Linked DNA regions of Homo sapiens: region 1 is linked to region 2. Evidence: promoter capture Hi-C in human tissues and cell types (Jung and others, 2019). All regions are on one chromosome and are shown on one strand. The core of a region is centred on a gene start or on the middle of the fragment in contact, and the rest is flanking DNA. Distances in the headings are between cores, read along the strand shown. Region 1 holds the start of KIF3A (kinesin family member 3A). Region 2 holds the start of GDF9 (growth differentiation factor 9).

Evidence for each region. Contacts are between HindIII fragments. The study calls those that stand out against the background at their distance.
Region 1: a fragment that was not itself captured here is called in contact with the fragment with the promoter of GDF9 in region 2 in 1 of the 25 tissues and cell types used here (hippocampus).

Annotation. Positions count from the first base shown.
Region 1 is chr5:132,731,506-132,738,018 of GRCh38, reverse strand. It overlaps KIF3A (kinesin family member 3A), which reads left to right and starts at 473. Exons shown (of 19, transcript NM_001300791.2): 1 at 473-605; 2 at 3,541-3,814. The coding sequence starts at 600. RefSeq lists a silencer at 609-918 and an enhancer at 1,069-1,168. The HindIII fragment of the contact is 5,462 bases long and covers 2,002-6,513 here.
Region 2 is chr5:132,862,349-132,869,074 of GRCh38, reverse strand. GDF9 (growth differentiation factor 9) reads left to right here and starts at 2,606. Exons shown (of 2, transcript NM_005260.7): 1 at 2,606-4,938; 2 at 6,519-6,726. The coding sequence starts at 4,542. It overlaps UQCRQ (ubiquinol-cytochrome c reductase complex III subunit VII), which reads right to left and starts at 2,433. Exons shown (of 3, transcript NM_014402.5): 1 at 2,388-2,433; 2 at 2,040-2,206; 3 at 228-1,587. The coding sequence starts at 2,193. The coding sequence ends at 1,493. RefSeq lists enhancers at 2,095-2,595, 2,596-3,096, 1,955-3,154. The HindIII fragment of the contact is 5,371 bases long and covers 269-5,639 here.

The DNA.
Region 1 (6,513 bases), core at 3,483-5,982, 130 kb after region 2:
ACACGTATAAAAATCCCACTCTGTGCCAGGCTCTGTGTGGGCTCTGGAGATAGATGTGAGAATACTAACAATCTCCTTAAGAGAGCTCACTTTCTAATGGTAAGACAGGTCATGAGGAAGTTAGCAATCAAGCGAGGTCAGGTAGGTAAGGTCTTCAATTCTTCGGATGAGACAAAATGTACAATTGCTATTACTGATTTTAATATTCCGGGTATTGCAAGGGCCAGAAGACGGGCCTAAGAGCAGCTCCTCCTCCCAACCCCGGGCTGCCAGGTTACCTCCGCCTCAGTGCGTGCCACATTTCTAGCGCAGCAGAATGGCAGCATTGCGCACGCGCGGCCTCAGTCTGGCGTCCTAGGAGATGGACTCGGAAAGCCTCCGCGCAGGCGTAATTCAAGGGCCGAGAGAGCCTGAGACTGGGCTTGGGGCGGGGCGAGCTCGGAATGCGGCTGCGCACTGGGCGCTCTCGCCCGAGAAGCCGCAGTCTCGAGAGCGTCAACGAGGTGTTTCGGTAGTCTCTGGCCATCCTTTCTGCGCACCCGGTGTCGCTGGGCTGCACCCCGGGCGGGGACGTCCGCCGGGCACGGGAGGGGGCCAAGATGCCGGTGAGGAGAGTCGCTTCGCTTCTGGGGTTTCTTCTCATCCTAGCGGCCTGGCCCGGGGGCGCGGCCGTTGCCATGGAGGCGCGGAGCCGGCAGGCGGCCTGGGTGGGGCGGGGCAGGCTCGGTCGTGCGGTGGAGGTGGTTGGAGAGCCTGGCTGGTCAGCCCCGGGGCCGCGGGGGTCCGGCCGGCCTCGACAGGGACCTGGGGTCAGGCCCTGCCGCCCTCGTCGCTGCTGCATCCCGTGGGGCCTGCGCCGCTTATCAAAAAGGCGCTGTGCTGGAGGATGCGCTCTGGCTCGCAGCCCTTCCTGCTGAGCGGGGCGTCTGGGGGTGGCCACGGTGGGGCTCTTTGGATGCTGCACACCTGGTGAGGCCTTTGCGCCTCGGAGCAAGCGCAGGGAGGCAGCGGAGCGAAGGCTGCCTGCCCCTATTCCAGGCCCCATACTCCGAGTCTCCTAGCCTTGAGCTGTCATTGCTCTTGTGGCGCTTTAGCTTATGATGCAGAATGAAACCCGTAGGTGTCTTTGTGTGTGTGGCGGTGTTATGTTTATCTTCCAGGATTTCACAGATTGTTATCGTGAACTTAATAATGGGGCCTTCTAAGACCCCTTATTAGGGGTCATGGAGGAAAATTGAGCCATGGCCGCTTATTTAGTGGTTGTGAGGCCTCGGATAATTATTTAATCTGTCTGGGTCCTTAGTTCCCATGTAAACTTTACCTCATGGGGTTGTTATCCGCGTGAAATAATACACAGGAGACTAGAAGGACAGTGCTTGACATTTAAGATTAAATGCTCTATATTTGTTCTGTTCACTGCTTTCAAGTTTTAATTCAGTAAATATTGGGCACCAACCACATGCTAGGCCCTGAAGATACAACATTGAGCAACACCAGTCAGGTTCTTGAACTTGGAAAGAGAGAGGCTTGCCTTCTTGGGCAGAGGTGAAAATCATACATATTTACAGACGTAAGACACAAAACCTTAATAATGAAGTGGGTGGGTATCCTACAATAGAGAGAAGTAGATTCTGGTGAATTGGAATGTATTGCCATGTAAGAATGATGGTCTGCAGATGATAACAGGTCATTTTTTTTCCTCCCAAGAAGAGACTTTAGAAATTATTTTTGTGAAATTTCTCAATTTTAGCAACTAATTCAAAAGCTCTTTAAATACTATGAACCAAACAAAAGAAATTTGTGGGCTGAATTCAGCCTCTTGACTACCTGTTTGCAACCTCTGGTGTAGACAGAAAGACATTAATCAAATAAGGAACAAGCAAAAGTAAAATTTGTGTCCAGGAAGGGGAGAGCAGGGTGCTCTCTGAGCCTATAAGAGTATTTGACCTAGTCAGGAAGTCTTCCCAGGTGAAGTGGCTGTTGAGTTCTGAAGGATAAGTAGATGTTAACTAAGTGAAGAGGGGATTGAAGATGGTTCTAGGTAGAAGGAACAGCACATGGAAAGGCCAGTGGTGAGGAGCATGGTGACAAGAAAAGGCCAAGCAGCTCAGTGTGGCTGTGGCATGGATGAGCCAGGCAGAATATCTTGTGAAATAAGCCCAGTGAAGCAGACGTGGGTGGAAGCCAGACCTTACAGACCACCTTAAGGATTCTGGTTTTTGTTCTGAGATCTATGGGAAACCACTGAAGAATTTTTAAGTAGGAGAGTGACATGATTAGATGTGTGTTGACACTGACTGCTATTTGGAGAATAGGCAGTAGGGCAATCTGATTAGATTCAGGAGTATAGTTAGGAGGCAGTAATCCAGGGCCAAGATGATGGTGATTTAGACTAGGGTGATGAATAGATGAGAGGAATAGGATGAGAGATAGATAGAAGTGTATTGTACTGATATAATCTGTTACTTGTCAGTGACAATGTCAGAGTCAATGACAATGACTCATATTTGTTTCTCTTCAATGCTTAGAAGAGAATCTGAAACAGTAGGAATTTAACAAGTATCTGTTCAACTAAACTGTCCTTTTCACTTCAATAATAGGATTGTGTTTCATTATATTTTCTTAATCATAAAATTTCAGAAATGACGGGGTGCGGTGGCACATGCCTGTAATCTCAGCACTTTGGGAGGCCGAGGTGGGTGGATCACTTGCGGTCAGGAGTTCGAGACCAGCCTGGCCAACATGATGAAATTCCGTCTCTACTAAAAATACAAAAATTAGCTGGGCATGGTGATGGACGCCTGTAATCCTAGCTGCTGGGGAGGCTGAGGCAGCAGAATCGCTTGAGCCTGGGAGGCAGAGGTTGCAGTGAGCTGAGATCACGCCACTGCACTCCAGCCTGGGTGACAGGGTGAGACTGTGCCTCATAAATAAGAAAAAAAAAATTCAGAAATGGAAACTTTACATATACAAATGCTTATAAGGTTAGGTAATACTAAGGCATTTTTCTTTGCCATTAGACTTTCATTTCTGTCTTTATCTTATTATTGTTTTCTGTAGAGAAGATAAGCCATATATGGATATATTACATGATAAAAACCATTTTACAGATGCGTGATAGGAAATAAAACTAAAGTCTCAGGGGAAACAAAGGACCTACTATTTTCTTGAGTTAAAGTTGTTAACCATGTTCACATGTGTTTTCCTACAGGCAGGAAACGCTGGGTCAGAGACTTTTGTGCAAAAAGATGATCTATAATATACTGGTTCAGTTTCTGCTTGTACAGCCTTTGCCACAAATGTGAACTAGCTCTTCTCTCCCTTTTACATTTTAAAAGAAACGATTTTCCTTTTTGTATCTTTTAATAAACTTTTCAGCTATATGTAAGATCTTTAATTGCATTTAACAAATACCTGTGAAGTGTTTAATGTGTGCAAGGCACTGAGTTGGAAAAGTAGCCTTTTAAAGTTTATAAATTTAATCTGATGAGGGTAAAAATTAATGTTCTTTTCATTATTTGTAAATATTATCTCCAACAGATCAATAAATCAGAGAAGCCAGAAAGCTGCGATAATGTGAAGGTTGTTGTTAGGTGCCGGCCCCTCAATGAGAGAGAGAAATCAATGTGCTACAAACAGGCTGTCAGTGTGGATGAGATGAGGGGAACTATCACTGTACATAAGACTGATTCTTCCAATGAACCTCCAAAGACATTTACTTTTGATACTGTTTTTGGACCAGAGAGTAAACAACTTGATGTTTATAACTTAACTGCAAGACCTATTATTGATTCTGTACTTGAAGGCTACAATGGTAAGTGAATCTTTACTTTTTAAAAAACTCCCTTATTGAGACATAATTACTGTGCCATAAATTCACATATTGCAGCTGTGCAGTTTGATGAGTGTAGTAAATATATACAGTTGTGAAACCATCATCACAATCCAGCTTTAGAACACCCTTGTCATCCTCAAAATTTCCTTTATGCCCATTTGCAGACCCACCCCCAAGCAACTATTGATCTGCTTTCTGTCACTATAATTTTGCCTTTTCTTGAAATGTCATATAAATGATGTCATATAATATGTCACCTTTTTTATCTGTTTTCTTTCACATCAAATAATGTTTTTGAAGTTTATCCTGCTAGGATTTTCATAGGGATTGTGTTGAATTGTCATTCTGACAATATTGAGTCTTCAGTCCATGAACATGATACTTCTCTTCATTTAAAACGTTGAAACATTAATGAATTATGGACAGGGTCTTGCTCTGTTGCCCAGGCTGGAGTGCAGTGGTGCAGTCATAGCTTACTGCAGCCTTGAACCTGGGCTGAAGCTATCCTCTCACTTCTGCCTCCTGAGTAATGAGAACTACAGCTGTGCGCCACCACACCTGGCTCATTTTTTTGTTTTTGTAAAGACTGGGTCTTGCTGTGTTGCTCAGTCAGGTCTTGAACTCCTAGGCTCAAGCAATCTCCTACTGAGGCCTTTCAAAGCCCTGGGATTTCCCATGTCAGCTACCATGTCCAGCTTCTCTCCATTTATTTATATCTTAATTTCTCTCATCTGTATTTTGTAGCTTTTAGTGTACAAGTATTGCACTTGTTTTGATTAATTTATTCCTAAGTATTTTTTTGATGCTATTGTGAATAGGATTGCTTTCATAATTTCAATTTTGGATTGTGTGTTACTAATATATAGAGATGAAATTGATTTCTTTAGGTAGCTTTTGTGATAAAATTCAAATATCAAATTTATGATTTTAACCATTTTACACTTTATAGTTCATAGGTACATTTACAATGTCGTACAGCTGTCACCGCTGTCTGTTTCCAGAACATTTCTATCACTCCAAAAAGAAACCCTGTATCCATTAGCAGTCAGTCACTCCCAATCCATTACCACCTCCCTTCCCCCAACCCAGCAACTACTAATTTACTGTCTATATCTATTCTATGAGTTTGCCTATTCTGGACATTTTCTATAAATGGAATTATATGCTATGTGGCCTTTTGTGAATAACTTCTTTCACTTACAGTGTTTTCAAGCTTCATCCCTATTGTAACATATAAACATATATCAGCAATTCATTACTTTTTTTTTTTTTTTGGAGACGGAGTCTTGCTCTGTCGCCCAGGCTGGATTGCAGTGGCGTGATCTTGGCTCACTGCAACTTCTGCCTCCTGGGTTCAAGCGATTCTCCTGCCTCAGCCTCCTGAGTAGCTGGGACTACAGGCGCCCGCCAACACACCCAGCTAATTTTTTGTGTTTTTAGTAGAGACGGGGTTTCACCGTGTTAGCCAGGATGGTCTTGATCTCCTGACCTTGTGATCCGCCTGTCTCAGCCTCTGAAAGTGCTGGGATTACAGGCGTGAGCCACTGCACCTGGCTGATTTTTGTATTTTTAGTAGAGACGGGGTTTCACCATATTGGCCAGGCTGGTTTTGAACTCCTGATCTTGTGATCCACCCGCCTCGGCCTCCCAAAGTGCTGAGATTACAGGCGTGAGCCATTGCACTAGGCCAGCAATTCATTATTTTTTATGTCTGAATAATATTGTATAGATATATCATATTTTGTTTATCCATTTATTAGTTGGTGAACATTTGTTGTTTCTACTTTTTAGCTATTACAGATAATGTTACTTTGAACATTCTTTTACAGATTTTTGTGTGAACATATGTTTAGTTTCTCTTGGGTATATACCTAAGAGTGGAATTACTAGGTCACATGGTAACTTTGTTTAATGTTTTGAGGAGCTGCCAAACTTTTCTACAGTAGCTACACCATTTTATATTCCCATCAGCAATGTGTGAGGTTTCTGATTTCTTCACATCTTTGCCAGCACTTGTTACTGTCTTTTTGATGACTGCCCTCTTAGTACCCACAGTTGATTTTTGTATATTGACCTTGTATCCTGAAACTTTGCTAAACTTATTAATTCTAGTAGTTTTTTTATGTTTTGGGTTTTTTGTAAATTTTGTAGGATTTTCTACTTGTAAGAATATGTTGGCCAGGCACAGTGGCTCACGCCTGTAATCCCAGCACATTGGAGGCCGAGGCAGGCAGATCACGAGGTCGGGAGTTCGAGACTAGCCTGACCAACATGGTGAAACCCTGTCTCTACTAAAAATAAAAAAATTAGCCAGGCATGGTGGCACGTGCCTGTAATCCCAGCTACTCGGGAGGCTGGGGCAGGAGAATCGCCTGAACCTCGGAGGCGGAGGTTGCAGTGAACCAAGATCGTGCCATTGCACTCCAGCCTGGGTGACAGGGCAAGACTCTGTCTCAAAAAAAAAAAAAAATGTTGTTTGCAAGTAAAGACAGTTTTTACTTTGTCCTTTCCAATCTCCTTTAATTTATTTTTGTTACCTGATAGCACCTGGAGGCTAGAACCTCCAGTAAATTAGAAGTGGTGAGAGTGGACATTTTGGTCTTGTTCCTGATCTTAGGGAAAATGCATTCATTCTTTCACCAGTATGATGATGTCTGTAAATTTTAACAGATATCCTT
Region 2 (6,726 bases), core at 1,357-3,856:
TAAAAACGGATCTCAGATCCCATAGCATATACTGTACTGACTGAGCTATGACAACTCATCATATTCCACATACCTGCTACCACAGGTGAGATCCATGTCCCGAAGCTTAGAGAGAAGCCTCTCTAAGGAACTAGAGGCATAAAACTGCCAACCACACCTACCCCCACCATCTCTCGGTGGGCGAAGGGAAAATGGTATCTTTAATACCAAAAAGATAATTTAAAGGCTTTAGATCAGGGGTAAACTTTATTCATAAAGGGCCAGAGTAAATCTTTGAGGCTTTATGAACCACATATGGTTGAAAACATTGTTGGCCTCCTGGCACAGAAACAGAAAACTGCTGTGGAGGCTAAGAGATCACCTCATCCGTTTTATAGCTGATATCCCCTCAGGCTAAGGCCTGCCTTAGGAGGAAAGGCAGTAGAGCAAGCTTGTCCAACCGCAGTCCTGGGCAGCAAGCAGCCCAGGATGGCTTTGAATCCGACCCAACAAAAATTTGTAAACTTTCTAAAACGCTGAGGGTTTTTTTTGCCATTTTTTAAAGCTTATCAGCTATTGTAATGTTAGCGTATTTTATGTGTGGCCCAGGGAAGCTAAAAGATTGGACACCCCTGCAATAGAGCATAGTTTTAAGAGCATCACTTTAGTGCAAGACTCCACCATTCACTGCTGTATAATTTCTGGCAAATTACTTAATCTCTCTGTGCCCATTTCCTCATCTGCCAAATGAGGATACGTTAAAGGTGCTTGTGAGGTTTAACAGTTCATTTGTGTAGCTAAGAAGAGTATTTGAGGCCCAGAGCACCATGGCTTACGCCTGTAATCCCAGCACTTTGGGAGGCTGAGGCGCACAGATCATCTGAGGTCAGGAGTTCCAGACCAGCCTGGCCAACATGGTGAAACCTGTCTCTACTAAAAATACAAAAAATTAGCCAGGTGTGGTGTCCTGCACCTGTAATCCCAGCTACTCGGAGGCTGAGACAGGAGAATCGTTTGAACCCAGGAGGCACAGATGGCAGTGAGCCGAGATCACACCACTGCACTCCAGCCTGGGTGAGAGAGCAAGACTCCATCTCAAAAAATAAAAAATAAAAGCGTCCCTGACACATACTAATTACAATATAGTTAGTAGACTTTATTGTTGCTATGGGAGCAGAGGGCCAAGAACCAGCACTCGCCATAGCCCATGTCACCCACAAATGGTTAGATGCAGGAGTACCTGCAGCTACTTTCTTGTAGATAATGGAACAAAGGGGGAGCCCTGCTCTTTCACCAAAACCCGAGACCAGGCAAAACTTCAAGACTCATGCTGAGGAGGGGCGCTTCATGAACTTGAATATTAGTGGTCACACAGGATTCTACTCACAAAAATGTAATATCACAACAGTGCAGACCATAGGAAGTTTATTGTGTCTTTGAGACACTACAATGCAGACTCCTCTTCCAGAGAAAGGTCTTTCAGAGACAGGGAACCGTCATCCGGATGCGTTGCTCATTTGTCATTTTCATAGGCAGCTGGATTCTTCCTCTTGGATCTCTCGAACTCTTCAGTCCCCCATGTGTAGATAAGATAAAACACTACAAACTCTTTAAAAATTAAGAGAGTAAACAGAGAGCACACATATAAGACATATAGAAGAAAAAAAAAGGTCTCAGTCCTCTTGTCTTCTTTAAAGCATACACTTCAGTAGTTCTTAGCATATCCAAGGCCATGCAACTATCATCACTATCTGCTGCACGTTTAACACAAAGCATTTCACCACTGGTAAGAACTAAATAAAGGTGACCTCAGAGGAACATGCTGGAATCACCCGAGTGACCTTGGGCCAGTCATTTCAGTTCTGTAGCTCAGTTTTCCCCGTGTAAGATGGGGAGGATAATATGACCAGCTTAAGGGCGGTCAGGAATATTCAATGAGAAAGGTGTGTACGGCAAGTTACAGAGCGCCTGCCCGGCCGCCAGCGCTCAGAGGGGAGGCGCAGTGACTGCTGCTGCTGCTGGGGTCCAGCCTCCCGCTCCCGCGGGCCCAAGGCACTCACGCGGCACCACGCGAAAGAAAGACTCCCGAATGCGGCGCAGAACATTGGGGATTCCTTTAGTGAAGACGTGCGGATAGGCGCGCTGCTCGAACGGTGACAAGCTGTAGCTGATCACATGCCGCATCCGCGTCAGATTCCCAAACTCGCGGCCCATTGTGGCGGCGGCCCTGCAGGACCGAGGGTGGACAGGCGCTTGGCTCGCTTTCGCGAAGCGCCGCAGTCCCCGCGGGGGTCCATCCCCAACCCCAGACTCCTGCCCCTGCACTCCTTATCCTTTCCCAGCCCAGCGGGGCGCCCCTAGCCTCCCAGGGTCCACGAACACTGCACAACCAGACCCCACTCACGCACAGGGCTCAGCTCGCCCTCCACAGTCACCGATCCGGTTGACTCGTTCGTCATTTCCGGCAAGGTTGGAAGCCGCTCTTGGAGGTCGTGAGGTAACTTCCGGGAGATACCATTTTCCTACTGTCTCTAAGGGATGACGCCTTTGTCCCAGAAAGAAGTGGGCTGACTGGGTGACCCGTAGGTGGGAGGTGCCTTGGAGGCCCTGCCCGGGCCGGTGGGGTGGAGCCTAGCGGAGGACGTCGGGGATTGAACTGACTTTGGGGGACAGTGGACAGGCGGAGGCGCTCACACTTCTCCTCAGCCCTCGGCTTTTCTGTGGAATCCCAGTCAGGAAGCGGCCGAATGCGGGAGGCGGGGGAGGGAACAAAAAGGTGACGAGGAAGGGGCCTGCCGACCTCCGGGGCAGCGCTGGCCAGGAGCTTGGGGCCTGCGAGTCTTCCCAGCTGTAGACAGAGCGCCTCTGAGCCCCGAGGCCGGGCCGCCCCACAGCAGAGGAGCACGAGGTTTCATTTGGCCTTGGCCAGTAGCTCAAAGGGGGCTTCGTTATTTTCAGGCCATGAGCGACCCCAGCACCAAAATCAGGGACACACATCGAAGGCTTCTCTTGGACTCTGTTTTAGAGTCCCCTGGCAGGCTGTTAACGTTCCCAAGAGATAATACAAACGTTTCGTCAGTTTCAGCCACAAAAATAATCAAATAATCGTCAATTGATGAATGCTGAGGCCGCCTCGACAGCAGCCAGCGTCCTCCCCAGATGGTTTGCGTGGGGTGGGGGGAATCACGATGCCCCAGTTCTTTCTTCTCCCCACGTGAGAAGCAAGGAAAGTCGGGTGAGAGGCCTTATTATGTTTTCCCTGAAGTGCATTCTGCTTGACGATGCTGTTGTCAATGTACAGCTCGCCCTGAGGTGTCTTGTCAGTGTTTTGTTAATGGAATTGCTGGCCATATTTTATCTAGGACTAAGCTCTCATTCAACAGTTGGCTGTGTTTTATAACACTACTTACGGACCACGGAGGCTCGGCAGGCAGTCAACTTGTATTTTGCAGACATACCTTAGTTTTCTCATGTAGGTACTGCACAAACTGGCTTCGTATCTTGCACTATGAGTGTAGGCTGACTCTTCCAGCATAGTCTCCTTCGGGGTGGCGCTGAATATCCCCTCATTTCAGCTTTTCATGGTGCTCCTTTGCCTCATTTTTTTAAACCATAATGTCTAGCCTGGTCTCAGCTCCAAGGCAAGAACAGAAATACAGGTAAGGACAGAAATATTGTGGCAAATTCTACCACCATTTGGATGAATAATAATAAAACGTTCATTTATTTTATAGCATCTGCAAACATCCCAAAACCTTTCAACCAAAATATGTATAGATGAGTGTGCAGACCAAAGTAAGGACATCAGTATGTTACATTTAAAAATAAGTCAAGGTTAAAGGCGGTGTCCTCTTTTAAGAACATCGCAAATACAATTCCAGTACTCCAAGTACGTATTCTGTACCCAGCCACCTGGGAGGACTGAGAGACCTAATGGTTTTCTGCTTTCTGGAACTTCTATGCCAATTGTGACTTTCTCACCCAAATTTGTAAATTCGCAAATTAACATGCAGCGAATAATTACAATTGTAAACACCTGGAAGTGGAAAAGGCCGTGAGGATAAATTGAGAGGAAGAGTAAACCTAATACCATAAGTTGCATACCAGCAGATCTGAGTATCGTCATGAATAATTGGTTAGCTTTTCCACATGCCTTAGAAGTTTCAGCAAGCACCTAGCGAACATCTTAATCCAAATTTCTCAAAAAATGAGAGATTTTATTTAAGATCATTCCTCAATTTATCTTAGACTTTCAGCTACATAGTTAGTCCGGTAGTGTAACAGTAACGGGTTTTACGTAAATGCCAGGGGAAAAGAGAGGAAAGCTAAATAACCAAGTAAATCTGTATCTAATTAACAAATTGGCTAAATAAGGTGTTATCAGCTGCTTGATATAGAGCTGATAAAATCTTCAGCTAGGCATACTTGAGGCCTGATTACAGAAGTGACCGTAGTCCACCCACACACCTGAAATTTATTTAAGAGACCAAGCTAGGCTCTTCCTGGCCTTTAGGAAGAGGACTGGCATGGAGAAATATGTTCCTCACTAGTTCTCCCAAGCCATGGCACGTCCCAACAAATTCCTCCTTTGGTTTTGCTGCTTTGCCTGGCTGTGTTTTCCTATTAGCCTTGGTTCTCAGGCTTCTGGGGGAGAAGCTCAGATTGCTGCTAGTGCTGAGTTGGAATCTGGGGCTATGCCTTGGTCCTTGCTGCAGCATATAGATGAGAGAGACAGAGCTGGCCTCCTTCCCGCGCTTTTCAAAGTTCTATCTGTTGGGCGAGGTGGGTCACCTAGGCTGCAGCCAGACTCCAGAGCTTTGCACTACATGAAGAAGCTCTATAAGACATATGCTACCAAGGAAGGGATTCCTAAATCCAATAGAAGTCACCTCTACAACACTGTTCGGCTCTTCACCCCCTGTACCCGGCACAAGCAGGCTCCTGGAGACCAGGTAACAGGTATGTGAAAGCAGATTGGTTAACTGGGTGGAGGGAAGATGATAGACACTTCTGCATTTCAATTACAGAAAGGAGCTGAGCCTAGTTCCTTGAATTGTATTTTATTTTGCATAAAACTCAATATCCAGTTGAAACAAATCTGGGACTTGAGCTTATTGTTTATTCCTAACGCTCTCATTGGTTAAGGTGGGCTAATATGATGGAATTTTAAAGCAACACCAGAGACTTAATGGCTTTCAAGGCTGAGCGGAAGTGCTGCTAGAGAATGTTAGCACCTCTTTCTGTTCCACCAAGCTTTTGGCCCAGAAATGGACCTTAAACATCTCTTACAGCTATTGGTGTGATGTGTTAAATAGGATATTTTTCTCTTGTTTGTTACTTTCTGTGAGAGAAAAGCTTAAAGTTCCCGTTTTGAACAGTTGGCCCTTACAAGAACAAAGTATCAGTCCACAGTTTGACTCAGCAGTTGGGTGTGGTGCTTTAAAAAATTATAACATGGTGAAACCCCGTCTCTACTAAAAATACAAAAATTAGCTGGGTGTGGTGGTGCATACCTGTAGTCCCAGCTACTCGGGAGGCTGAGGCAGGAGAATCGCTTGAACCCAGGAGGCAGAGGTTGCAGTGAGCCAAGATCGCACCACTGCTCTCCAGCCCGGCAACAGAGCGAGACTCTGTCTCAAAAAAAAAAAAAAAAGTATATATCTACCAGCTCTTGATTTAAAACCATTCTAACCCAACAGGGCAGTTGTATCTGCTTCCTTAATATCCTATTTTAATATAGTGGTTTTAGAGCATCTGTTTTTAATCTCAAGTGTTCTAAATTAACTAGGACCAATTACATTGTTTTAAATTGACTTTCTTCACTAGGGCTTAGAATGTCATCTTAGTAAGTCTGATAAGTGTTTCTATTATGGTTTTCCCTCTAGAGATTATCCAAGAGAAAAATACTACTTTCCTTATCAGCTCAGCTGCTTCTGTGTTTGGAGCAAATTACTCAGAATGAAGCTTCAGGCTGAGCACAGTGGCTCATGCCTGTGATCCCAGCACTTTGGGAGGTTGAGGTGAGAGGATCGCCTGAGCCCAGAAGTTCAAGACCAGTCTGGGCAACATGGCGAGACCTTGTCTCTACAAAAACAAAAAATCAGCTGGGCATGGTAGCTCATGCCTGTAGTCCCAGCTACTTGGGAGGCTAAGGTGGGAGGATCAGTTGCACCTGGGAGGTTGAGGCTGCAGTGAGCCATGATGGTGCCACTGCACTCCAGCCTGGGTAACAGTGAGACCCTGTCTCAAAAAAATAAAAAATAAAAATGAAACTTCAGAATGTAGTGATTCCCTGTTACTTTGATTCACCACCAAATCTGACTTTCTGGAGATAAAATGTCCAGTAAGGTTGCTGGGAATTAGTAATGATACCAATTGCCTTCCTTTTCTATATTAACCCCCATTTTTTTTTTTGAGGCTTGAGAAAGTGGGGAAAAGAGAAGGGAGAAAGCATATTATGAAGTACTAATTCTTTGACTTGACTGCCTGTTGTGTTGACTGATTTTCAAGCACTACTGGTAGATTTTTTTTCTTCTTAGGAATCCTTCCATCAGTGGAACTGCTATTTAACCTGGATCGCATTACTACCGTTGAACACTTACTCAAGTCAGTCTTGCTGTACAATATCAACAACTCAGTTTCTTTTTCCTCTGCTGTCAAATGTGTGTGCAATCTAATGATAAAGGAGCCAAAGTCTTCTAGCAGGACTCTCGGCAGAGCTCCATACTCATTTACCTTTAACTCACA